Linked DNA regions of Homo sapiens: regions 1, 2, 3, 4, 5 and 7 are each linked to region 6. Evidence: promoter capture Hi-C in 16 types of primary human blood cells and fetal thymus (Javierre and others, 2016). All regions are on one chromosome and are shown on one strand. The core of a region is centred on a gene start or on the middle of the fragment in contact, and the rest is flanking DNA. Distances in the headings are between cores, read along the strand shown. Region 1 holds the start of C1orf35 (chromosome 1 open reading frame 35). Region 2 holds the start of EXOC8 (exocyst complex component 8). Region 3 holds the start of TRIM17 (tripartite motif containing 17). Region 4 holds the start of GNPAT (glyceronephosphate O-acyltransferase). Region 5 holds the start of GUK1 (guanylate kinase 1). Region 6 holds the start of ABCB10 (ATP binding cassette subfamily B member 10). Region 7 holds the start of ARF1 (ARF GTPase 1).

Region 1 (3,149 bases), core at 184-2,683, 1.5 Mb after region 6:
AGATGGGGCTGGTTAGGATTCTACAGATTGAGCATGCCAGGGTGATTCGCCCAGAGCATTTATTCGTGGGGCTTTTGTACAGAGTGGGCTGCAGCAGTTCTTGCAATAGGCAGTGAGAGAAATGAAGTTCTCTCTAGGTATGTCCGTGGGGGAGGGGGTTGGTGAATGGAATTTATATGAGGGTTTGAGGAATCTGGCTCAGGCTGAGTCCAGTTTCTTTCTGTGTTTTGAGCAACAACCTAGTTACTGTCATCTGTGCCTGGGAACGTTCATGGCTATGGCTCGGGTTCAAGTCTGCAGAGGAAATTATACAGTTGGCGAAGTCACAGAGTGGCCAAGGGACTCTGTTTCTCAGTCAGCACTGGGAATGAAAGTGGAAAGGGGAAGCAGGGGTACGTCACAACCTCCAAAATCAGGGTGCCCAGCACGCTGAGGTTCTGGTAAGGGGTTTCTTCCAGACTGCAGACTTCCTTCCCGCTGCCTTCACACAGTAGAAAGCTGCACAAAGCTCTTGGGGTCCCTTTTATGAAGGCTCTGTCCTCATGACCTAGTCACCTCCGAAGCACCAACGCCTTGGGGTGAGGATTTCACATGGGAGTTAGGGTGCACATTCAGTTTAACACGGCAGGGATAGGACCAGTGCTCTGAGGGTGTCTGGGTAGCTGCTGGTTCATCCAGAAGTTTACTGGGTAATACTCAGAAATTCCACAAATCATTAAGGTCATTACCTTGTTAAGCTCCCGATATGGAATCGCGACTAGCAGTGACCAATTGGCGGTGTTAACTAGGCGCATCTTGTGTGTTTTCTTTTTTCTTTTTTTATGAGACAGGGTCCGCTCACTCGTTCAGGTTGGAGTGCAGTGGCGCGAAGTCCTGGGTTCGAGATCCTCCCGCCTCAGCCTCAAAGCGTTGGGGCTACAGGGGCGCGCGCGCGCCTGGCCCATTTTAACTTCTTATTTTTGAGACAGTCTCGCTCTGTCGCCCAGGCGGGAGTGCAGTGGCGCGATCTCGGCTCACTGCAACCTCTGCCTCCCGGCTCAAGTGATTCTCCTGCTTCAGCCTCCTGAGTAGCTGGAATTACAGGTGTGCACCACCACACCCGGCTAATTTTTGTATTTGAGTAGAGACCGGGTTTCACCATGTTGGACAGGCTAGTCTCGAACTCCCGACCTCAAGCGATCCGCCCGCCTCGGCCTCCCAACTTGCTGGGATTACAGGCGAGAGCCACTCCGCCCGGCCCCGTTTTAACCATTTTTAAACTTCCAGTTCAGAGGCGTTCCCGCGCCCGGCAGGGTAGGCGCAGTGCGCAGGCGCCCAAAGCCGACGTGGAGGTGATGCGCGGGAGCACAGATCCGGGGCAGTGCGCTGCGCAGAGGCGCGCGGCGAAGCCGAGTGGGCGCGGGAGTGACGTCACGGCGCGCGACGCGGAGGCGGGGTCGGGCCTGGGTCCGACGGTAGTGGGTAGCGGGTCTCGGGTTGCGGGTTGCAGGTTGCAAGCCGCAGGCCCCAGGCAACTGCCTTCCCGGCGCCATGTTCGGCTCCAGTCGTGGAGGCGTGCGCGGCGGGCAGGACCAGTTCAACTGGGAGGACGTGAAGACTGACAAGCAGCGGGAGAACTACCTGGGTGGGTGCGCGCGGTGGGCGGGCTCCGGGCTCCGGGCTCCGGGATCCCGGGCGGGCGCTGGACTCACAGCGTCTACGTCCGCAGGCAACTCGCTGATGGCGCCGGTAGGCCGCTGGCAGAAGGGCCGCGACCTCACCTGGTACGCCAAGGGCCGGGCGCCATGCGCGGGCCCGAGCCGCGAGGAGGAACTGGCAGCCGTGCGGGAGGCGGAGCGCGAGGCGCTGCTGGCCGCCCTGTGAGTGTCCGCGGACGGCAGCGGTCGGTGCCTGGGACGGCGCTGCCGGGGCAGGGTGGGGCCGGGGCCGGGGACTGGGGGTCGGGCTGGGCGGGAGCGGGGCTGCGGGGACTCGCGCGGGCGGGACCCTGAGGACGAAGGCTGGAGTGGTGAGGACCTGTGGTGGGAGGAGGTCCGTCCGTCCTGACGCCTGCCCCGGCCCTCTCGCAGTGGCTACAAGAACGTGAAGAAGCAGCCCACGGGCCTGAGCAAGGAGGTAACTCCCCGGGGTGGGGGGCGCGTGGAGGGCCGTGGGTGTGGGGCCGACTCGAGCGCTCCCTGTGCTCTCGCACCTGCAGGACTTCGCGGAGGTCTGCAAGCGGGAAGGAGGCGACCCCGAGGAGAAGGGCGTGGACCGGCTGCTGGGGCTGGGGAGCGCAAGGTGCGGGCGGGTTTCCAGGGGAGGGCAGCACTGGGCTCGATTGCTCGGGTGAGGCGGACCCCTGCCGTACTGTCTTCATCGCCATGTCCCTGCAGTGGCTCCGTGGGCCGCGTGGCGATGTCCCGAGAGGACAAGGAGGCCGCCAAACTGGGGCTGTCTGTGTTCACGGTAATCCCCCGCCCCGCCTGACCGCAGCAGGGGCTAACAGGGGTGGGGCGGGGCGGGGGCACTGAACGGAGCTCCCCGGGGCGCTGCGGGGCGTGGTGTGGGGCCGGCCCGCAGACTCCTCCGCAGAGCTCGCTTCTCCCGCAGCATCACCGCGTAGAGAGCGGCGGGCCCGGGACCTCGGCAGCCTCGGCCAGGAGGAAGCCGCGGGCGGAGGATCAGACGGAAAGCAGGTGAGGCTGTGCCACCTGGGCTAGCTGTGCCCCGGGGTGGGGGGTCTCGGGAGGACCGGAGCGGCTCCCACTCGGGCAGGTGGCAGCTTCTCTTGGCGCACCGGCCCGGCGGGTGGCCTGCCCTACTTTACTTCCTGTCCCAGTTACTCCTAGGTTTTTCTCTAGGGGAGTTTCTCGGGTCACCCTTGAAGAGAGGTCCTAAGTACTGGCAGTGGTCGGGCGCTGTGCCGTGGGAGGGCACTCAGGACCTGGGGCGGGGCCTTTTCCTGCCGTGGGTGGCACCTCCAGGGCTTCTCCTGGATGGTGAGCCTGGGCCTGACCCTAAGAGTGGCCTGGTGGGTGCAGGTAGGAAGGTGTCAACCTGCCAAGGGCACGGCTGGGGTGGGGCAGGGGCGTGCTGTGGAGATGGGGATATTGCATCTGTTTCTAACCCACGTAGCCACTGGCCACGTGACTACGTAACTGAGGAGT
Region 2 (3,442 bases), core at 680-3,179, 1.8 Mb before region 6:
ATCCCAGCACACCTAGAAAACAATCACCATAAAAATGTGTTACATTGGCCAAATATGCCCAAGTCCTTACACATTCTTGGGCAGTTCACACTAACTCAGTTGGCAGATGGCTTTCATGAAAGTATACCCCCCTTGGTTAGCAGATACTTGCATTTCACCTAATTAATTAGTTACAACCCCCGCGGGCGCCTCCCGCGATGGCTCCGATCCCCGCCGGGCAAGGAAGGAAAGCAGCGTGCTCTCACCACCCTGCTTGAGAAGGTGGAAGGCTGCAGGCACCTGCTAGAGACGCCAGGACCGTACCTGGTGTACAACGGGGACCTAGTGGAATACGATGCGGACCACATGGCCCAACTGCAGCTCCCCTTGCCCTAGCTAGGCTGCAACAGCTCAAAGGCAATCCTATTCTGCTACTCCCAGTCTCCTTCCGACAAGTTACAGTTCGGTGTTATTAACAAGCAGATATCTCCAGTAGCATATCTCCAAAATCATAACAGACGCCTGTATAAAGGAAATTGGTACTTTAAACACAATTTAATATCATATCTTAATTTGTTTGACAGTAGGTTGTTTTCTATCAACTCAAAAACAAGCATGCTGGGATACAACTGTATCTTAAACTTAACCCTGTTCACGTGCAGGAGTAGATTATTATTTCAAATAGGGATTTCTGAAATTTAGCGTGTAGAAAAAGAATCGTTTTAAAAGCATCACTGAAGATCCCCAATGCAACACACGAGCTAACTAAAGTGGGTTTCCTAACGGGAATAGAGGAGGAGAACACACATCCTTTGGCAGTTACTCTGCGTCCTCAGCACTTTCTTAGGTGCAGATTTGGTTGCTTCTCCCTTCTGGGTCCTACAGCACTATCATAAGGCAAATCAGGAACTTGTTATTTTCAAGTGAAGTGAGATTCAAATAAAAATCTCTTTTTTGTTACGGCCCTGAGTCCAACCGTGGCGGTGTGGTCTACACAGCTTTCTTATTGTTCGAGTGGGAGAAAAGGTAAGGAAGACAGAAACACGCCGAGGCAGGAATTGCCAGGTCCAAAACCAGACTCCCCTCATTTAACGCCCCCTGGGACCGTCGGACTAGAGAAAGGAGAGAAAACCAGGGCCGGGGGCTGCAGGAAAGCTGCCAGTCCCGCCTCTTTCCCCAGCGGGGCTCGGAACTCACAGGGTCATTCGCACGCTCCACTTCACCTCGACGGCCTCCAGCTGGCCCCAGAAGAATTGGTCGTTAAACTGAACAAACAGTGCCTGCAAGTCCGGTGTGGGGTCCACCAACTCCCACGACGCGTCCACTAGCGACAGGGACTCCTGGGCATGATCGCGCTCCGCCTCCTGCAAGTTCCACTCCTCCTGAAGCCGCAGTGCCAACATCAAGTCATCATCCATCGTTGCCAGGATCACAGGCGGGGTCCGCCGGCGTCAGGCTGGCTCCCCAGTTACGCCGCGACCCCAAGCCGCCTAGCCGAGGACCAGGACTAGCTCCTAGGAGATGCCGGCTCTCGAGACGGCCCGTCAATCCCGCGAGAGTTCGCGGAAACGCGCTTGAGAACGAGAACGGAGCTTACCCCAAACGCCGAAGCCAAGATTCTAGGGCTTTAAAAAAAGCAGTCAGCATGACACCTCCTAGTGGGCGCAGAACCTGGGCTCACAGGGCTCGGGCCCTACGAAGCTTTCAGGAAGCTAGTTTCAGCCTTTACTCTTTGCCGGTTATTTCAAACCTCAACGTCACGCTCGGTTCATGCGCAGTACCGAAATTTCTCTCGGCCTCTCCCTCCCCTCACTTCCGCAATAGCTCATCTTGCGCATGCGCTTTAACCGATGGCATTGCTGCGCAGGCGCAATGTCTGCGCTCGGCCCACTTGCGCAGGCGCAGTGTCTGACGCTCAGACCCGGCGCAGGCGTACTCGTCTCGTTCCCATTCCTGCTTCCTCAGCCCAGGAGCTCGGTTGGCCTTGGGTGGGTCTAGACAGCCGCGGCGGCTGCGGCGCCGATAGTGACAGTGAGTGCGTGAGACCCGGAGAGAAATGGCGATGGCGATGTCGGACAGTGGGGCGAGCCGCCTGCGTCGGCAGCTGGAGTCAGGGGGTTTTGAGGCGCGGCTGTACGTGAAGCAGCTCTCGCAGCAGTCGGATGGGGACCGGGACCTCCAGGAGCACCGGCAGCGCATCCAGGCGCTGGCGGAGGAGACGGCGCAGAACCTGAAGCGCAACGTCTACCAGAACTACCGGCAGTTCATAGAGACGGCCCGCGAGATCTCCTACCTGGAGAGCGAGATGTACCAGCTCAGCCATTTGCTGACCGAGCAGAAAAGCAGCCTGGAGAGCATCCCGCTTACGTTGCTGCCTGCCGCTGCTGCCGCCGGAGCCGCCGCCGCCTCTGGAGGGGAGGAGGGAGTCGGTGGGGCGGGGGGCCGAGACCACCTCCGAGGCCAGGCCGGCTTTTTCTCCACCCCCGGGGGTGCCTCCCGCGACGGCTCCGGTCCAGGCGAGGAAGGAAAGCAGCGCACTCTCACCACCCTGCTTGAGAAGGTGGAAGGCTGCAGGCATCTGCTGGAGACGCCGGGACAGTACTTGGTGTACAATGGGGACCTAGTGGAATACGATGCGGACCACATGGCCCAACTGCAGCGGGTGCACGGCTTTCTCATGAACGATTGCTTGTTGGTGGCTACCTGGCTGCCTCAGCGGCGTGGGATGTATCGCTACAACGCTCTCTATTCCCTAGATGGTTTGGCCGTAGTCAATGTCAAGGACAACCCGCCCATGAAGGACATGTTCAAGCTGCTTATGTTCCCCGAGAGCCGTATTTTCCAGGCCGAAAATGCTAAAATCAAACGAGAGTGGCTGGAAGTGCTGGAGGACACCAAGAGGGCCCTCAGTGAGAAAAGGCGAAGGGAGCAGGAGGAGGCAGCGGCCCCTCGAGGGCCACCCCAAGTGACTTCCAAGGCCACTAACCCATTTGAGGATGACGAAGAAGAAGAACCAGCTGTTCCTGAGGTAGAGGAAGAGAAGGTGGACCTCTCCATGGAATGGATCCAGGAGTTACCTGAAGACCTGGATGTCTGCATTGCGCAGAGAGACTTTGAAGGGGCGGTTGACCTGCTGGATAAATTGAACCATTACCTGGAAGATAAACCTAGCCCACCTCCTGTAAAAGAACTAAGGGCCAAAGTGGAGGAGCGAGTTCGACAGCTCACTGAGGTGCTAGTTTTCGAACTCTCCCCAGATCGTTCCCTGAGAGGTGGTCCGAAGGCTACTCGCAGAGCAGTTTCGCAACTGATCCGGCTGGGCCAGTGCACGAAGGCCTGTGAGCTATTTTTGAGAAACAGGGCAGCCGCTGTTCATACTGCAATTCGTCAGCTTCGCATCGAAGGTGCCACTTTACTCTATATTCATAAGCTGTGCCATGTCTTCTTTACCAGCCTTCTCGAG
Region 3 (3,434 bases), core at 516-3,015, 1.1 Mb after region 6:
GTGCTCGGACCACCTTGGGCACATGGCTGTGTCATGGGCGTGTGTCCTTAACTTTGGCAAAATAAACTTCCTAATTGACTTAAACTAGCCTCAGATATTCTGGGTTCACAAGGGTAATTCACTTAATCGGCCAGTGTGCGCAGCCAGCCCGCACCTGACAGCACACAGACCCCTTTGTGTGTGCGAGTGATGAGAGACCACAGAAGAAACACTCTACCGAGTGAGCCCAGGGAAAGCCAGCCATCTATGCCTGTGGCCAGCTGTCTACACCCGCACACCCAGGAGATTGCAGAATGGTGCCTCTTAGCCTTCAAGGCCCTGTTTTCCTGCCTGTCTGCACCCCCTGTGTGGGCCAAGCCTTAGTTTCTTCATCTGTCCTCTCTCTCCAATCCCAGGACTCTGACTCAGGGCACGCAGGCCTCTGGCTCCTGTTCCTGAAAGCAGGAGATGAACCCTCCATGTGAAAGGTGCATCCCTCTACTGGAGGATGAAGCGTGATGACTAGGCGTGGGGACTCAAGGCCAGGAGAAATGGCCACCAGTCAGGACCTGGGCAGGGCTGGGGGCGGCATTTTGGCTGAAACCGTAAGAGACTTTTAAACCAGAGCAACTCCATCTTGTATAGAGGCTGGGTAAAATAATTCTGAGACCTGCTGGGCTGCATTCCCCAGAGGTTAGACATTCCAAGTCACAGGATGGGATAGGAGGTTGGCACAAGATACACGTCATAAAGACCTTGCTGATGAAACAGTATGTGGTGAAGAGGCCAGCAAAATCCCACCAAAACCTAGATGGCGACCAGAATAACCTCTGGTTATCATGACTGCTCATTATATGCTAATTTTAATACGTTAGCATGCTATGAGATACCCTCACCAGTGCCACAACAGTTTACAGATGCCAAGACAAGGTCACAGTTACCCTATATGGTCTAAGAAGGGGAGGAGCCCTCAGTTTCTGGAATTGCCCTTCCTTTTCTGGGAAACTCATGAATACCCCACCCCTTATTTAGCATATAATCAGTAAATAGCCATAAAAATGGGCAACCTGTAGCCCTGGGGGCTGGTCTGCCCATGGAGTAGCCACTCTTTATTCCTTTACTTTCTTAATAAACTTGCTTTCACTTTACTCTATGGATTTGCCCCGAATTCTTTCTTGCCCAAGATCCAAAACCCTCTCTTGGGGTCTGGATCAGGACCTGTTTCTGGTAACAAAACCACCTGGGGTGTCGGCAAGACCCACCCCGTCCCGCCTGGTTCTAGGGGACCTGACCTGCCAGGTGGTCCCTCCAAACTGGTCCGCCCACAGGATTGGGACGCCCCTCCCTGTACCCTCAGCCTGATGCTGACTGCCAACCATGTGGGCAGACCTGGCGGCTGACTGGCTGCTCCTGGGGACCCCCTTCATAGCTTCTCAACAGGCACTCGCTCCTGCTGCCTCGCCCCCACCCCAGCCCACACAAACTCCTCTCCATCCCCTACCCCGACCAACTTAGCCCCTCACCTAACCCTCCAGCCTGGGGCTCGCGTGCCCTCCCGCAGCCCCAACCCCAGGTTGAGAAGCCTCTTCCAATCCCACTCCCCCCACCCTGACGCTCGCCTGCCCGCCCCTAGCCCCACCAGCTGTCCCCATTCCACTCCCCACCCCCAAGTAACCCCCCAACTCCCCACCCTCCACACTCCCTTAACCTCCCCTAAAAGTCCCACCCCAGGCCAACAAGACTCCTCCCTTCGCTGGGCTGTGGACCACATCCTCCCCACCGCCCAGTCAGCACCCGCTGCGCCTGTCCCCGGCTCGTCCAGAGCCTTCCACCCCCTGCCGCCTTCCTTCCCCAAGCCACCCCCAACCTCTCCTAAGAGGCGCCGCCCCAGTCCCGGCCGCCGAACACTCCCTCGCCCAGCATTCCCCTCCCCCGCCGCCCCCCAGCCCCCGCTGACGCCACAAAGTCCCTAGGCCTCCCGACCCCAGGTCCCCACGCCCCGGGCCGGGCCGCAGCCTCCTGGGCTTCGTGGGGGCAGACCCAGCCTTTCCCGGCAGCGAGCGCTCGGCCAGGTGCACTAGGCGCTGTGCGGGCCCCCCTTCCCCGCGGTGAGTAGCCCCCACCCCGCCGCCTAGGCTACCCTCCTGTGGCGCCTGGGCCACGACCTAAGCCTAACCCGGTCCTCCTCGCCCTCCAACGCCCGGCCTTCCCGCCTCCGCCGGCCGCCGCGTCCCTGGAGGGGCTAGCGCGCTTCAACAAGGTAACTCTACCGGGACCCTAGCGGACCAGAGCGGGAAGGACAGCCATCCCGGCAGCCAGAGCCAGAGCCCCAGGCCCGCTGCCGCTGTCCCTGCCCGGCTTCGGTCAGGGTGGGCTGGGTGCCTCCGTTAGGGCTCTTGGGGGGAGTCGGAGGGCTGGCGCCGGGTGGTTGGCGTGCAGAAAGCTCCGAGAAACTGGACGTGGGACAGAGCCGGGGAAGTCTGAGACCCCTAGACGCCCTCGCTTTAGGGGATGGCAGAACGGAAGGGGAGAATCGTGCTTGCAGTGTAGACGCGATTTTCAACTCCTTCTGCAACTCGGTCCCCATAGCAACCCCGTGGCGTAGGCGAAAGTCTGTAGATCTCCACTGCGTGGGGTCGCGAGTGTTGAGATTGCAGGGGGCATCTATGTGCATGCTTGTGTGCCTGTGCGTGTGTGCGCGCGTGTACCTGTGTGTACATGCATGTATGTTTACCGATATGTGCATCTGTGCCTGTGTGTGCTGTGTTTGTGGATCAGTGTTTCTGTGCGTACATGTTTGTATTTGTGTGGTGTGTATGCGTGGGTATGCGTGTGTGCACATGCACGTTTGTATACATACATGGGTATGTGTATGGGTGTTCGTCTGTGCGTACATGCACACGCGTGTTTTTTCTGAACCCCACCTCACTACCGAATGGAAGAGAGCTTTTTTCCTCTGATAGCCCATCCCTTCTTCCTTTGGTGTACGGGGTTTTGTTAAAGAAAAAATTCTGACATTTGAAAGGCTCTTTAGTCAGGCTACTTGCAATGGGAGAGTTGCGCCAGCAAAGACAGCTGGGGATGTATGGGGGAGTTGGAGTGGGGATCTGGGTGGGGTCAGTGGATGGAAAGTGATTAAGGGAAGGCTCCAAGGGTAGGGGCTTCTCCCTAAGCTGACCTAGCAGGCTTCTCCAGAAAGGCAGGTTGAAGGCCTAGCCGGCAACGGTCTGTCGGGGAGGAGGAGCTGATGAGATGTGGAGCTGGGGGTAGCCAGCAGCAGGCGGAAGTGGACGGGTAGGGTCCAGGCCCAGTGGAGAGGAGAGGCGGAGGGGCCTGCAGAGCATTGGTCAGGGAGGGTCTGTGTAGTTTCTGGGGAGGCATCTGTGTCTGTTGTTGACAAGGCTAAAAATGATGACTCTGGACTCTCTAACTGGACTGCAGTCCTAGCCCTCCTC
Region 4 (3,066 bases), core at 384-2,883, 1.7 Mb before region 6:
ATACAACTGCCATAGTTTTTCACATGAAAAAGTGGACTCAAGTCTTATTAAAGAACCGTTGGTAAAGGGGAAGTAAAACAAACAAACAAACAAACAAAACCAACTCCTTCCTTTAATGTACAAAAGGAAAATTCCAACCAATTCACAAACCAGTTGGGAGCTTAAAAAGCTACATGTTAAAAGCTGGATCTGCACAGCAACCCTCTTCCCTTCGTGCCTGCTCTGGAGTAGCAGAGTCAGAAAACAAAGTTGATATCCACCACAGAACTGTGGGGAAGATAAGATCAATGAAGAGATATATCTAAATAATAAGGCTTATAGGCAGTTAGCAATCAGAAACCGAAAGGTCTTGATAGAGAGGGAACAGAAGTTTCTCCATGTTCCAAAGAATATTGGTGTCTCAATTTGAAGGAACCCATATATTCTCTTTCAAAACTGGGGTGTTTATCTTGCTCTGCTGTGTTATCCCTGTTTTGACCTTTCTGCACAAATGAACACTACATTTAAGCCAAAATTGGACAGTAATCACCAGGATATGCTAATATGCTTTTAAAATGAATTCTTTCATTTTCTCCTAAAGTAGCTAAAAACTAATTTAGTGGTTAAAAACAACAAGAAACAAACAAAAACCAAACCAGTTGCCCCAGGTCTGTGCAATCCTGAAGGCTATAAAGCTCCCATCTCATAATTTCTTCATGAAAATCGTGGGTGACCAACATCTGCCAGCCAAAAAGACCCGTTAAAACCAAGAGAGGAAGAGGGGGTTGGAGGAAAAAAAGACAAGCGGGAGAGAAGCTGGGTGGCGCTGGCTGTCCTCCAAAATGATTTGTGGAAAAGGTACAATAATGACTGGAAGACAAGAACAGGCAATAAAAATGTCTAGAAGTTCTAAATTTTCCTGAAGTGTTTAAAACTCTATTCCCACATACAAGCCAAGTGCTCTACTCCCAGGAATATAACAGCAGCATAGGGCGGGGTGCGGAGCCACAGGCTATCTCAGGGCGGGTCAAACCCGCAAGTTTCTCAGGTTTGCCCAAAAGGTAGCTCGACATGCCCTCGCTAGAGATGGGGAGACTCCAATTCTCATTCCTCATTCTCGTGTCCAGGAGCTTTCTGAAGGCCCCAGGGCCTGATAGAAAGAAAGAGAAGGAAAAAGTGGAAAGGAACCAAAGGAACCATAATCCGTAGAAACTTCCAAAAGCATGCACACACAGACACACAGCGATACACTGTTGTCCTGGAAACCAATCCAACCAACTAACCCCTCCTCGGGAGCCTAGGGGCCAGCTCTTTTGGGCAAGGGTGGTGGGCCGGAGGAATAGGGACTGGGAGAAAGGGGTACTATTTCGCGCGGCTCCGCTCTGGGCCTCTTTTCCCTGGGCGCCTACCGAGTAGAGGAGCACGACAGCGCTGGGACTGGTTGGGCCAACGGAGAAATAAGAGTTAGATGAACTGGAAGACTCCATGGTGCGGCTGCCTTCCCGGGCGGGGTCTGGGATTCTTTGCTAAGCCGTGGTGGTGCTCCTGCTGGGGGCGGTTCTTTCGCTCAGGACGGCCCTACTTCGCCTAGGGCGGCGGCACCCTCTGCAGCCGCTACACAGGATCCCGGGCGCCGCCATCTCAGCCAGGACGGAAGCCGCGCAGGGCCCTGCAGCGCATGCGCGCAGTCGCGGAACCCGGAAGCGGGGGTGCAGCGCGGCAGAATGAGGGTTGATTCCTCGGCTGACCCCACAATGTCGCAGGAGCAAGGGCCGGGGTCCTCCACGCCTCCCAGTTCTCCGACACTTCTTGACGCTCTGCTCCAGAACCTTTACGACTTTGGTGAGTGCGGGGTCCCAGGAGCCCACGTGGAGAACAGATTTGAGGAACGTGGGTCTCCTGTGTTGCCCGTCCTGGGTTGGCCTCTGCTTTGAGGCTAAAGGTTCTTGCATGTCAAGCACCCTTCGTCCCACCTGGTTCCAGTAGCGAACACATTTCTCCATCGGAAGTCACCCCTCGACCGGGCTCTGCTGAGTTATTCATCAAACCTTCCAACTCGTCCCCAAGTGTGGGGACCATCCTACTTGCTTGTAGGAAGCACCAAGGCTTTCCGATTTAAAAGTAGCCCGCTTTTCCACGTTTTCTTGAGCCCTGGGAAGTCCCCTTTCCCCATGCCACCCCCAAGACCTGCCTGACCCTGGTGCGATGGTGTCATTTCGCTCTGGGGCCTCGGGCCTGTTGGATAATACACCAGCTTCATCCTTGTGTGTCCCTCTCCAGAGACATCATAGTCCTTGGCGAGTTGTCCTTTTCACGACTTTTTTTTTTTTAAACAAGTGCGCTGATCTTTTACTCTCCGTTCTTTGTCTTGATGGGGGAAAAGGAAAATAAAAGAGCCTATTAAAGTCGCATGGCATGTCAGTAGGAAGACAGTGCCTCATACTCTGAAGAGCTTTCCCGGGAGAAGGTGACACCCTTTGCACATGCACCAAAGAAAATCATTAGATTTCAGGACAACACACATTTCTTAAATTTACAGCGTGATATTTTAAAAGCTATTTTTATTTTGGAATGACTGCTCAAAATTCTAAGTTCACCTAAACAGTAGGAATAATAGTTAAAACTGTTGAGAACTTGCCATATAGCACATGCTTTTCGTGTATTTGCTCATTTAATTTTCAACTTCATGAAATAGACACTGTCATAAATCCATGATTGCAGATGTAGAAACAAGTACTAGAAGTTCATGAAACCTGATGCAGGTTGTCTGACTGGTAATTTTTGCAGAGCCTGGGTTCTGATTCTAGCCCCAGACCCCATGCTTGTATTAACTAGCATTTCTGTGCCCTTGGACATATTGGAGGACAGAGAAGACTTAGTCTCTGACCTTGAGAAGTTTAAAATCTAGAGGAAAAGACTATTCTGCAAAATAATATAGTTCATGTCAACACAGGCTGGAAATCATGGTAGGAGCTCTGAAGGCATTGAATGTGTCTATTCATTTTTATATCCTTAATGCCAAAGTTTAGTTGGCTCTTAAATGTTTATTGTATAAAAGATTAAGCAAATAGTAGCAAGCATAAATCA
Region 5 (2,992 bases), core at 401-2,900, 1.4 Mb after region 6:
TCCAGCAAACATTCTGTGCTCTCCACTCTCACCAACCCACAGTCGCAAACTCCAATCAGCTGCCTGGCAAGAAGCCACACAACCCACAACTGTAAGGACCTGCCAGGCACGTGGTCTCCACAGGAGCTCCGAGATGGAAGGTCTCCTGGGAGCCGCCGGCGCAGATCCATGTTCCGGAATGGTCTCTGCCAGAACGCTCCCTGGACTGGGCTCCCATGCTGCCCCAGCAGCCGCTTTCCTGGAAAGGCACTCCCTGCTGTGGCGGCATAATCTCCTCCTTCTGGCTTCCAGCCATCCTAAGGACTGAACAGAGTCACCACCTTGCCCCCGGCCCACTGTTCGAGGAGATGCTAACAGAGGGCTTGACCTTCTGAGAACCGAGAGAATTCAGCCCCCGCCTGGCCTCTCGTAAGACACAAACCACCAGACGTGGGCCTGGGCTCTGGGCTGGGCCAGGTGGATGAAGGGGAGGCTGGTGGTCCAGGCGGCTGCTCTTGGCTGCAGGGTTTCTGGGCACACATCCGGGTAGCACGCATCCTGGCCTTCAGCAACCTCGTTTTAAATGGGACCACACCAGGAGCAGCCAGGGCGCTTTCATTTTCACTTTCTTTCCCCGGGGGGGACAGGAACATTCCTTTACCTCCTGAGGAAATCGGGCTCTTCCAGAGCCACAGAGGAGTGAAGGCCCCAGCCCTTCACGATGCTGCGCGGCTATGTTTGGGTCTGTCCATCAGGGAGAAAGAAAAACCGGCCGAGTCTTGCACAGGGTCCTCGACAGCAACCCCAGGTAAAGAGCAGAGCAAGCCTGAGACAGGAAGGGGCCATGAGCCCAAAGACAGCAGAGCAGGACCCAGCCCGGGGCCTCAGGACCGACCTCTTTCATGCAAAGACGAAACCGAGGCCCACCACACGCAGGGTCAAAATCAACTTTGAGGCACCTGCTTCCCACACCAGTCCTTACTGGGGCATACTTCTAAGGCGACGCTCAAGAATGGCAGCAGGGCAGCTTCAAGAACCCCAACCCGGACTCTGGCTTTGGAGAATCCGAACCCCAAATGCCACACCCATGCGTCGGGAAGGCCTGCTGTTTCCCCAAGTCCCCGTCTCTGCGCCGTGCCGCGGAGTAGGCAGAATCCTGGGAGCCCCGGAATAGCCGGCTCCATCCGCCCAGGACCCCAAGGCTTGCAGGGTGAGGTGGGAACCGGAGCGCACACCGCGCCGGGCCAGCGGTAGGGACTCCCAGCTGCTCTCTTTGGCGGCGCGCCCAGGTGTCGGGAAGACACCGAGCGCTCCTATACGCCCGGGGAGCAGCTCGACACTGCGATAACTGCCGGCCTGCCCAGCTCCTGAGGAGCGCCCCGCCCTCCGGGACCCGGGCTCCGCTGCGTTGCCAGCCCGTCCGCCCTCCAGAGCTCCCCCGTTCTCAGGGCCCACAGTTGAATGCGGCACAGGGCGTCTCGGCTAGGAGGAGATCCGGAGGCGGCGTGGACTGGGCGACCGCAAAGCGCAGGGACCGCTGCCGCCTCGACCCGAGTCACCCTCGCGATCGCGCTTGTCGTACTCACCGTCCGGTGGGGCCCGGCCCAGGGCGGCCGCAGCCAGCCCGGCCAGCGGGCGCCGCAGCATCCGGGGCCACCTCTTCCGCCCACTGAACCTACGTGACAGCGCCGCACCGGCCCACCTCCGCCCGCGCGCGAGACTGACGTCATGAGGCGACTGCCCCGCCCATGTCTCACTCGTTCTTCCCCGCCCCTTAGGGAAGTACTTACCTCAGTGCCTCGCTAGCCCCGCCTCCACCTGCGCTGGCCTGTCGCGACCGCAGGGGCGTTCAGCACAGCGCCCTCCCAGCCCGTCTTCTCCCGCTGCGTCACAGCGCCACGCCGGCCCGCCTCCACACAGCGCGAACTAACATCACGACCCGCCGGCCCCGCCCACGGCGTACTTGTCCCGCTTGTCACTCAGAGAAGTACCTCAGTGCAGCGCGGGCCCGGCTTTCATCTGCTACGTCACAGCGCTGCCTCAGCCCGCCTCCTCCCGCTTATGTCACAGCGCCGTTTCCGTCCTCCATCTACACTGCAGGGACCTAACTAACGAACGACTCCGCTAGCCCGTTCCAAACCGGCCACTCTCCAAAAACCATTAATTGGGGAATGTGGCCGGGCGCGTGGTTCACGTCTGTGATCCCAGCTCTTTGGGAGTCCGAGCCGGGAGGACCGCTTGAGGCCAGGAATTGGAGACCAGCCTGGGGATCATAGGGAAACCCCTTCTGTACCAAAAAATTTAAAAACTTTTTTGTGCCTGTAGTCCTTGCTACTCGGGAGGCTGACGTGGGACGGTCGCTTGAGCCTGGGCAGTCGAGGCTGCAGTGAGCGGTGTTCGTGTCACTGCACTCCAGTCTGTGTGACAGAGCGAGACCCTATTTCTTTCTTTTTTTATTTTTTGAGACGGAGTTTCGCTCTTGTCACCCAGGCTGGAGTTCAGTGACGCCATCTCTGCTCACTGCAACCTGGGCCTCCTAGGTTCAAGCGATTCTCCTGCCTCAGCCTCCCGAGTAGCTGGGATTACAGGCGCCCGCCACCACGCCCAGCTAATTTTTGTATTTTTAGTAGAGACAGGGTTTCACCATGTTGGCCAGGCTGGTCTTGAACTCCTAACCTCAGGTAATCCACCAACCTTGGCCTCCCAAAGTGCTGGGATTACAGGCGTGAGCCACTGCACCTGGCCACGGGACTCTATTTCTAAAAATTATTTTAAATTTTTAAAAAAGATTTATTGAAGGCTGGGTGCAGTGGCTCACACCTGTAATGCCAGCACTTTGGGAGTCCGAGGCAGGCAGATCACCTGAGGCCAGGAGTTTGGGACTAGCCTGGCCAAAATGGTGAAACTCTGTCTCTACTAAAAATACAAAATCAGCTGGGTGTGGTCGTGGGCCCCTGTAATTCCAGCTACTGGGGTGGCTGAGGCAGGAGGATCACTTGAACCTGGGAGGTGG
Region 6 (3,456 bases), core at 409-2,908:
TCGAACTCCTGACCTCGTGATTCGCCCGCCTCAGCCTCCCAAAATGTTGGGATTACAGGTGTGAGCCACCGCGCCCGGCCGCTACCTCCTTTTTGAGCCCAACTAAAGAAACATCAAGGATTGATACCCTCCCAGTTGAAGAGAAAGTGACAACTTTAACCCAAATCTCACCTTCCTCTTACTTTCTCTTTCCCATTTTCCAGCTGCCAAACTAAGGGCAGCTGCTGTCAGTTTTTGTAAATAAAGTTTCCAGGGCTGGGATTAGAGCGAGAGAAGAGAGGCAGGATTGTGAAAGGTCAGGAGTGGATACTCAATCAAAATTTTTTATATTTTGTTCATTACGGATTTTTTAAATTAATTTTGATTTTTAAAAATATTGCACTAAAATGTTTATGTTGATTATTGAGGTTTTTTTATTTTGTGAACCCATAAAATTTGCAACTGACAGTACCCTGTCCAGGTCCAGTAAAAATACCTAGGAGTCTACAAAAATCTACCCACGACTCACTGGACCTCAGGTACATATCCCCCCCCGCCCCCATGAAGTCTCCATAAAGTGTCCCAGTGAGTTTTAATGTTCTCTCCTGTCTTTCCATGCACGTGTATTAAGATGCATTGCCTTCTGATTAGTGTTTTCCACTTCGAACAGCGGGAATGCCTCGACCACGCCTGTCTTCAAATTTCTGCTCTAGTTAAGAAACGATCTCAGGCCGGGCACGGTGGCTCACGCCTGCAATCCCAGCACTTTGGGAGGCTGACGCGGGCGGATCACCTGAGGTCAGGAGTTCGAAAAGAGCCTGACCAACATGGTAAAACCCCGTCTCTACTAAAAATACAAAATCAGCCGGGTGTGGTGGCGTATGCCTGTAATCCCAGCTACTTGGGAGGCTGAGAAGGGAGAATCACTTGAACCTGGGAGGCAGAGGTTGCAGTGAGCCGAGATCGTCTCAAGAAAAAAAAAAAAAAGAAAAAAAAGAAACGATCTCTTCCCTTCTCAAAGTTATATACATTTCACTATTCGCCAACCACCTCCTCCACGCCGTCCAGAGCTGAGCTGACACGCAGCGAAGTCCTCTCAGTGGTCCCTCCGCACCTCAGCCCTGTGCTTGGCAGCGAGACGAGTGACAGGGCCGCCCCAGCATGGGTCTCCCGGGCCGCGGACCCGCCCCACGCCGTATCCAGCACGCTGTCCTCCCGCCCCATCTTTGTGCCGGCCATCGTGTGGTCGCGTCTGCGCGCTCCGCCCGGTCTGCCGGCGTGAGAAAGAGCTCGTGTCGTTCCCAAGTTCAGACCAGAGGGGACGGCGAAGCGCGAAAAAGTTCCCTGCGCCCAGTACGCAGGCGCAGCCGTGCTCCTGGGCTTCCCGGGCCTCGTCCCAGCTGGCGCGCCCGGCGCTCCTCCGCCAGCGGGCAGTTGGGGGCGCTGCAGGGAGGGCACCCGAGCGGGTTGGGGGCGCTCGGAAGGGTGGCTTGCAAGGTCCGGGTAGCTGCAGTCCCCGGAGTGGGGCGGAGAGGCGCGGCACCGCGCGGACGAGGATGGGGCGGGGGCGGGCGCAGCCCGAGGGTGCAGGCACGATAAGGCGGGTGACAGCCAGCGGGGAGGGGCGGGCGCCACCGCGTCCACGCCCTTTGCTCGGGGCCGGGCCGGGAGGGTCCTCGGGCTTTGCGCGCGCCTGGCCGGCGGGCTGAGGCGTACGGGTCGCACGCAGCGCCATGCGAGGCCCCCCTGCCTGGCCGCTGCGGCTGCTCGAGCCACCGAGCCCTGCCGAGCCAGGTCGGCTCCTGCCGGTAGCCTGCGTGTGGGCCGCGGCCAGCCGCGTTCCCGGGTCCCTATCGCCGTTCACTGGCCTGAGGCCGGCGCGGCTATGGGGCGCGGGGCCCGCGCTGCTCTGGGGCGTTGGAGCCGCGCGCCGCTGGAGGAGCGGCTGCCGGGGCGGGGGTCCGGGCGCCTCGCGGGGCGTCCTGGGCCTCGCGCGGCTCCTGGGGCTGTGGGCTCGCGGCCCCGGCAGCTGCAGGTGCGGGGCTTTTGCCGGGCCAGGCGCTCCTCGGCTCCCGCGCGCCCGGTTCCCGGGCGGTCCCGCAGCCGCTGCCTGGGCAGGGGACGAGGCCTGGCGGCGCGGGCCGGCGGCGCCTCCCGGGGACAAGGGGCGGCTGCGCCCCGCAGCGGCCGGACTCCCGGAGGCCCGGAAGCTCCTGGGGCTGGCGTACCCTGAGCGCCGGAGGCTGGCAGGTAGGGTCCTCCCCGGCCACTTCCCTCCGCCGGGCCTCTCCTTCTCCACACGCGGGGTCCCGGGGCGCCGAGAGGGACACGGCCGGGCCGCAGAGCGCGTGTCACCGCCGCCTCTCCTGGGCCACTCCTAACCCCGGAGGAGGGAGGGGATCGCTCACCTCAGAGTAGCGTTGTCAAGATTTCGCCTTAGCTGGGGACTCGTTTGCAGATTTTACACTTGTTTTCTTGTTGACACACGTTATATATGTCATTATTGGAATCTTTGGGTCTGTTCCACCACCAACTTAGTGGGAGCATCTGTTTTGGCTTAGGCAGCAAAATGAGCTGGAGGTTTTTCCTTGGAAAAAAAAATTCTAGCCAAAAATATGCCTATTTTGTTATTAGGCGTTTATACTTTTTTTTTTTAACCAAAAACACATTATTTGCTTCAAGCGAGTCTGTCAAGCAGTCACCAATGCTTTCACAGCGGAAAGCAAAACTTTCAGACTTGTCTCTTGTGCAGGAAGTTACAGCACTGTGTTCAACAGGCCACACCAGTGATCTGTTCAGTAATTGAGTAACTTTTTTAAAAGAAGCCAAAATGAATGTTTTTAGAAACAAAATTTAAATAGGACAGTTTTCTATAGCTCCTCATTTTTTAGCCATAATTGGAGGAGTGTTTAGATGCAAGGGCCTTGTAAGATCTAAAATTTTTTCGATTTCTCTAAATCTTCACTCCTTCTATAAACATCTGTTGAGCCCTCATTCTGGACTGGGCCCTGGGTTTACAGTGGCATGCACAAGGAAACATGGTCCTCACTTCTGCTGGGGCTTCTAGGTTAGTGGGGAGAAGCATCTATGAAATATTCGTATGTATAGAGGTAAACCTGCACCTGTGGGCTGTGGAAGGGGGCCTGTGGGGCCTGTGAGGTTGTCAGGTGCAACACCAGAAAAGCATTCTTTGCTGCAAATCCATTGCTTTAGAAAGGACCCTCCTGGGTAGTGATTTGGGATTTAGAGTAGGTTTGCACAGTGGAGGAGAGCAGTTAGGGTGGCGACTTTTCATCTACCAGTTGCTATGAAAGCTTAGGGGGCTGTTGATATCACTCGGGTGTAAAGAGAATTATTTCATTGTTCAGTTGGTTGAGTGTAGATTTTGTTGTAAAATATCTTTTTCTCTTTCCTCTTTTTAAAAACATTGGAGACTAGGAGCTCTCACTGGACTTTGAGCTGCTTGAGACGGGGACT
Region 7 (3,178 bases), core at 96-2,595, 1.5 Mb after region 6:
AGAACCACCAGCCTTGCAACAGCCGGCAAAGAAAACTGCTGACCACTAGTTCTGAAACAAGAACTACAACTGCCCACTCCAACAGGGGCAGTGGCACCAACTCTACAGCTCTCAACTAGGCGGCGACTTCGGGGACCATCCAAAGCCTCCGACCTCCCTTCTTTTCCTGCCCGCGATTCCGAGTGCATTTCTGCTCAATTCCTGCAAAGCAGCAACTGGCTGCCTGGACTGAAAGGGAGTGCCAGGAGGTGCCGTCGGAATGGTTATTTAACACTCTAGGTGCGCACGGCTGTCCAGCCCCAATCTCACACGCCGTAACCACCCAGGCTGTGCTCCGAGAGAGCGCTGGGGCCGGCCTCTGCGGCCTAGAGTCTGCGAGCAGGTCGTTCCGCAGGCAGGTTAAAGATTCAGGTAGGTTAAAGATTCACCAGCTCAGAAGAGGCCTTCTTATCTACTGCCGACAACGTCAAGGAAACCACCCTGGAGTTAAAGCGAAGATCGACCGGCCCTCTGGAGGCCACCGGTGCCCTGAGTGCTGACCCCAAATTGCGTCTCACTGGTGTGAAGGGAGGCACTCTGGGCTCCCCCGGAGGTCCACGCATTCCGTTCAGCAGACAGGGAAGGGCACGGGGTTCCTGTCCACCTGCCCGCCCGCTCTCACCACCCCTGACCCGGTACCGTCTTCACAGCAAACACGAACTGGATGGAGTCGGGAGGCGAAGATGCAAGCCCCCACCACCTACATGACCTTGACGGCGTCTCAGGCCGCCCGAGCCTCAGTTTCCCGGTCCCCGAGGCGGGGGTCCGCCCGGATGCCGCTCGCTCGCCTGTACTCGGGTGGGGGAGGCCCCACGACCCCCACCGGCCCCCGCGGCCGCTAATCCCAACCGTCCACGCGCGGGCGGCCTCGGGAAACGAGAAAGGCAGAGGCGAGGGAAGCAGGAAGCCCAGGTTTCCTGGAGAAGAGCCCGGCGTCCAAGCGGACTTCCGGGCGACGGGCGGGGGCAGGGACAGGCAGAGGAGGACAAGCGGCCGCGAGCGACTTCGGGAACCTGTGAGGGGTGCGAGGAGCTCACCGACCCGCCCGTCCGCCCAGCCCCGACTCCGGCCGGGCCCCAGCCTCAGCCCGGCCCGTCTGCGTCCGCCCCCGGCCCGGCCCTGTCGCCGCCGCCGCCGCGGGGGTCGACGTGCCCTTCGCGAACCTCAAGTCGCCCCGAGGCCAGTCCCCAGCCCCCGCCGGCTCCAACGTCTCTGCGGCCCACACCGGCCCGCGCCCCTCGCCCTCACCTCAGAGGCTGCTGCTCCGAGCCAGGCGTTGGTTTTGCTCCCACAAGATGGCGGCTCTGACGGCGGCCACGTCAGCGCCTCCGGGCGCGGGGCACGCCGGGTAAGGGGCGGAGACGCCGGGAACTCCGCCCACCGTGCGCCCGCGACGCAGGCGCGCTGGCTCCGGTAGGGCTGCAGGGGGCGGGGCCGGGGACACCCTGCCCCGGGCCGCGGTCTTAGCTCGCGCGCACCCTAGGGGCGCGCACCCGTCTGCGCCTGCGCCTGTGAGTCTTCCGCGAAGACAGCCTGTGGCTCACTCCCGCCCGTTTGGCGTATTTGGAGACTGAGGCCCGGGGGGCTCCTGCAGCAACTGGAGCTGCGGGGCTGGTTGCCACCTTCCTCCTCCCACACCCGGCAGTCACCGGGAGGCCTCGGGGACTGCGTGAGGACGGGGGTGCGAGGCGCCCCTCGCCGGGGTTGGGGTTCCTGGCTCCCAGGCTGCGCGGGTCCACGTGCCCCGGCCCTGTGGAAACCTGTGGCACTCGCGGGGCCACGGCGGAAGGTCCGAAGGCGGGAGGCTTGCTGTGTCCCCGCACTGGCCTCGGCGCCCCGGCGGCCGCAGTGACGCGCGGGCTCATACCTGGGCCCGGAGCAGACGCCGGGGAGCTGGCCGCAGATGAAGCAAAGGAGGAGGTGGCCTGGGGACCCCGGGGTGAGGCGGGGGCCGTGGGGGTGGGGCCCAGGGTTGGGGACGGCCGCCCAGAAGGGAGGTCACAGTGGTCTCTAATGAGCTGGCCTTTAAGCTGAGATCCAGTTGAGGCGGAGGAGATCCCGCTCTCAGGCACCTGAACAGAGGACCGTTGCAGTCCCTCTGTGTTCCGTGTGCTGGAGGCCTGGCTCTGCCCACCACCCTCAGGTCTTCTTGCCTCTTCCCTTGTGCTGCTGTGAGGGGTTGGGCTTGTGGGAAAGTGTCCCTGCAGCACAGTGCCCTGGGTATTGTGGAGGTCGGGAATCAACCTGATTTGTGCAGGCCGAGGCCCGGGGGCAGGGCCTGAGGGGTGGGATCACTGGGCCTGGCCCAGGCCTCCTGCGCCCCTTTGCTGCCCCCATCACCTACGTTGCTTGCCCCTTGGGCAGGGCGTCCTCACTGCCTCTGGAGGCTGCGATGGGCAGATCTCTCCCCCAGGGCTGCACCTGCGGGGGCTACGAAGGTCCCCAAAAGCGGTGACCCTCCTGCCCCCAAATTTAGTCCCTTTTTCTGCCTGGGGCTCCCTTCCGAAATCTCACCTCTGTGAAGCTGTGGCAGGGTTGTCTGTTTAGGGGAAGGACGTCTCCCACCCTACAGGCATCTCAGATACTCTTGGAAAGCCCCAGGGAGGGTTGTGGATGCCTGTGGAACCTTCTGGTTGTGCTGCCTCTCCCTGCTCAGCCAGAGCGGGGCCATGTGCGGACATTTCACGGGGGTTACATGTGGTTATGGCCTCTTTAGGGCTGAAGGGACCTGGCTTTGGTTCTCTGCTGGCAGAGCGTGGCCAGGGGTGGCTCCAGGGTCACTGAGCGGGGATTGTGTGGGAACCAGAGCCTGCCTCCCCTTCCTTTAAAATACTTTTTATTTATTTATTTATTTTTGAGATGGAGTCTTGCTCTGTCGCCCATACTGGAGTGCAGTGACACAATCTTGGCTCACTGCAATCTCCGCCTCCCGGGTTCAAGCAATTCTCCTGCCTCAGCCTCCCAAGTAGCTGGGATTACAGGCGCCTGCCCCTATGCCCAGCTAATTTTTGTATTTTTAGTGGAGACAGGGTTTCACCATGTTGGCCATGGCTGGTCTCGAACTCCTGACCTCAGGTGATCCACCCGCCTCGGCCTCCCAAGGTGCTGGGATTACAAGTGTGAGCCACCGTGCCTGGCC

The links. Contacts are between HindIII fragments. The CHiCAGO score rates a contact against its expected background, and 5 or more counts as called.
Region 1: a contact is called between the fragment with the promoter of C1orf35 here and the fragment with the promoter of ABCB10 in region 6, in 8 of 17 cell types (neutrophils, naive CD4 T cells, non-activated CD4 T cells and 5 more). The highest score is 12.1, in neutrophils.
Region 2: the fragment with the promoter of EXOC8 here is called in contact with the fragment with the promoter of ABCB10 in region 6 in 1 of 17 cell types (naive B cells); the score reaches 5.9 in naive B cells.
Region 3: the fragment with the promoter of TRIM17 here is called in contact with the fragment with the promoter of ABCB10 in region 6 in 1 of 17 cell types (non-activated CD4 T cells); the score reaches 5.2 in non-activated CD4 T cells.
Region 4: a contact is called between the fragment with the promoter of GNPAT here and the fragment with the promoter of ABCB10 in region 6, in 1 of 17 cell types (total B cells). The highest score is 5.6, in total B cells.
Region 5: a contact is called between the fragment with the promoter of GUK1 here and the fragment with the promoter of ABCB10 in region 6, in 4 of 17 cell types (monocytes, non-activated CD4 T cells, total CD4 T cells and 1 more). The highest score is 12.8, in monocytes.
Region 7: the fragment with the promoter of ARF1 here is called in contact with the fragment with the promoter of ABCB10 in region 6 in 1 of 17 cell types (monocytes); the score reaches 6.5 in monocytes.

What each region holds. Positions count from the first base shown.
Region 1 is chr1:228,101,609-228,104,757 of GRCh38, reverse strand. It overlaps C1orf35 (chromosome 1 open reading frame 35), which reads left to right and starts at 1,433. Exons shown (of 8, transcript NM_024319.4): 1 at 1,433-1,624; 2 at 1,709-1,859; 3 at 2,070-2,115; 4 at 2,198-2,280; 5 at 2,376-2,448; 6 at 2,593-2,678. The coding sequence starts at 1,531. RefSeq lists enhancers at 506-1,225, 1,226-1,946, 1,947-2,666, 2,667-3,149 and silencers at 1,669-1,938, 2,099-2,268, 2,519-2,598. The HindIII fragment of the contact is 8,620 bases long and covers 1-3,149 here.
Region 2 is chr1:231,336,339-231,339,780 of GRCh38, reverse strand. EXOC8 (exocyst complex component 8) reads left to right here and starts at 1,929. Exons shown (of 1, transcript NM_175876.5): 1 at 1,929-3,442. The coding sequence starts at 2,036. It overlaps SPRTN (SprT-like N-terminal domain), which reads right to left and starts at 1,488. Exons shown (of 5, transcript NM_032018.7): 1 at 1,177-1,488; 2 at 1-12. The coding sequence starts at 1,397. RefSeq lists silencers at 204-253, 2,325-2,494 and enhancers at 2-876, 1,275-1,474, 877-1,751, 2,055-2,114, 2,155-2,204 and 1 more. The HindIII fragment of the contact is 2,369 bases long and covers 1,683-3,442 here.
Region 3 is chr1:228,415,192-228,418,625 of GRCh38, reverse strand. TRIM17 (tripartite motif containing 17) reads left to right here and starts at 1,765. Exons shown (of 7, transcript NM_016102.4): 1 at 1,765-2,087. RefSeq lists a silencer at 2,197-2,306. The HindIII fragment of the contact is 7,787 bases long and covers 1-3,434 here.
Region 4 is chr1:231,239,779-231,242,844 of GRCh38, reverse strand. GNPAT (glyceronephosphate O-acyltransferase) reads right to left here and starts at 1,633. Exons shown (of 16, transcript NM_014236.4): 1 at 1,389-1,633. The coding sequence starts at 1,466. FSAF1 (40S small subunit processome assembly factor 1) reads left to right here and starts at 1,670. Exons shown (of 7, transcript NM_152379.4): 1 at 1,670-1,821. The coding sequence starts at 1,704. RefSeq lists enhancers at 731-1,620, 1,601-1,940. The HindIII fragment of the contact is 8,993 bases long and covers 1-3,066 here.
Region 5 is chr1:228,138,937-228,141,928 of GRCh38, reverse strand. It overlaps GUK1 (guanylate kinase 1), which reads right to left and starts at 1,650. Exons shown (of 8, transcript NM_001159390.2): 1 at 1,566-1,650. The coding sequence starts at 1,626. RefSeq lists a silencer at 1,064-1,623 and enhancers at 1,634-1,863, 1,974-2,023. The HindIII fragment of the contact is 28,593 bases long and covers 1-2,992 here.
Region 6 is chr1:229,556,909-229,560,364 of GRCh38, reverse strand. ABCB10 (ATP binding cassette subfamily B member 10) reads left to right here and starts at 1,658. Exons shown (of 13, transcript NM_012089.3): 1 at 1,658-2,229. The coding sequence starts at 1,713. RefSeq lists an enhancer at 879-1,068 and silencers at 1,239-1,938, 1,999-2,448. The HindIII fragment of the contact is 4,467 bases long and covers 1-3,295 here.
Region 7 is chr1:228,080,875-228,084,052 of GRCh38, reverse strand. It overlaps ARF1 (ARF GTPase 1), which reads right to left and starts at 1,345. Exons shown (of 5, transcript NM_001658.4): 1 at 1,288-1,345. RefSeq lists silencers at 959-1,058, 1,089-1,908, 1,919-2,048. The HindIII fragment of the contact is 7,793 bases long and covers 1-3,178 here.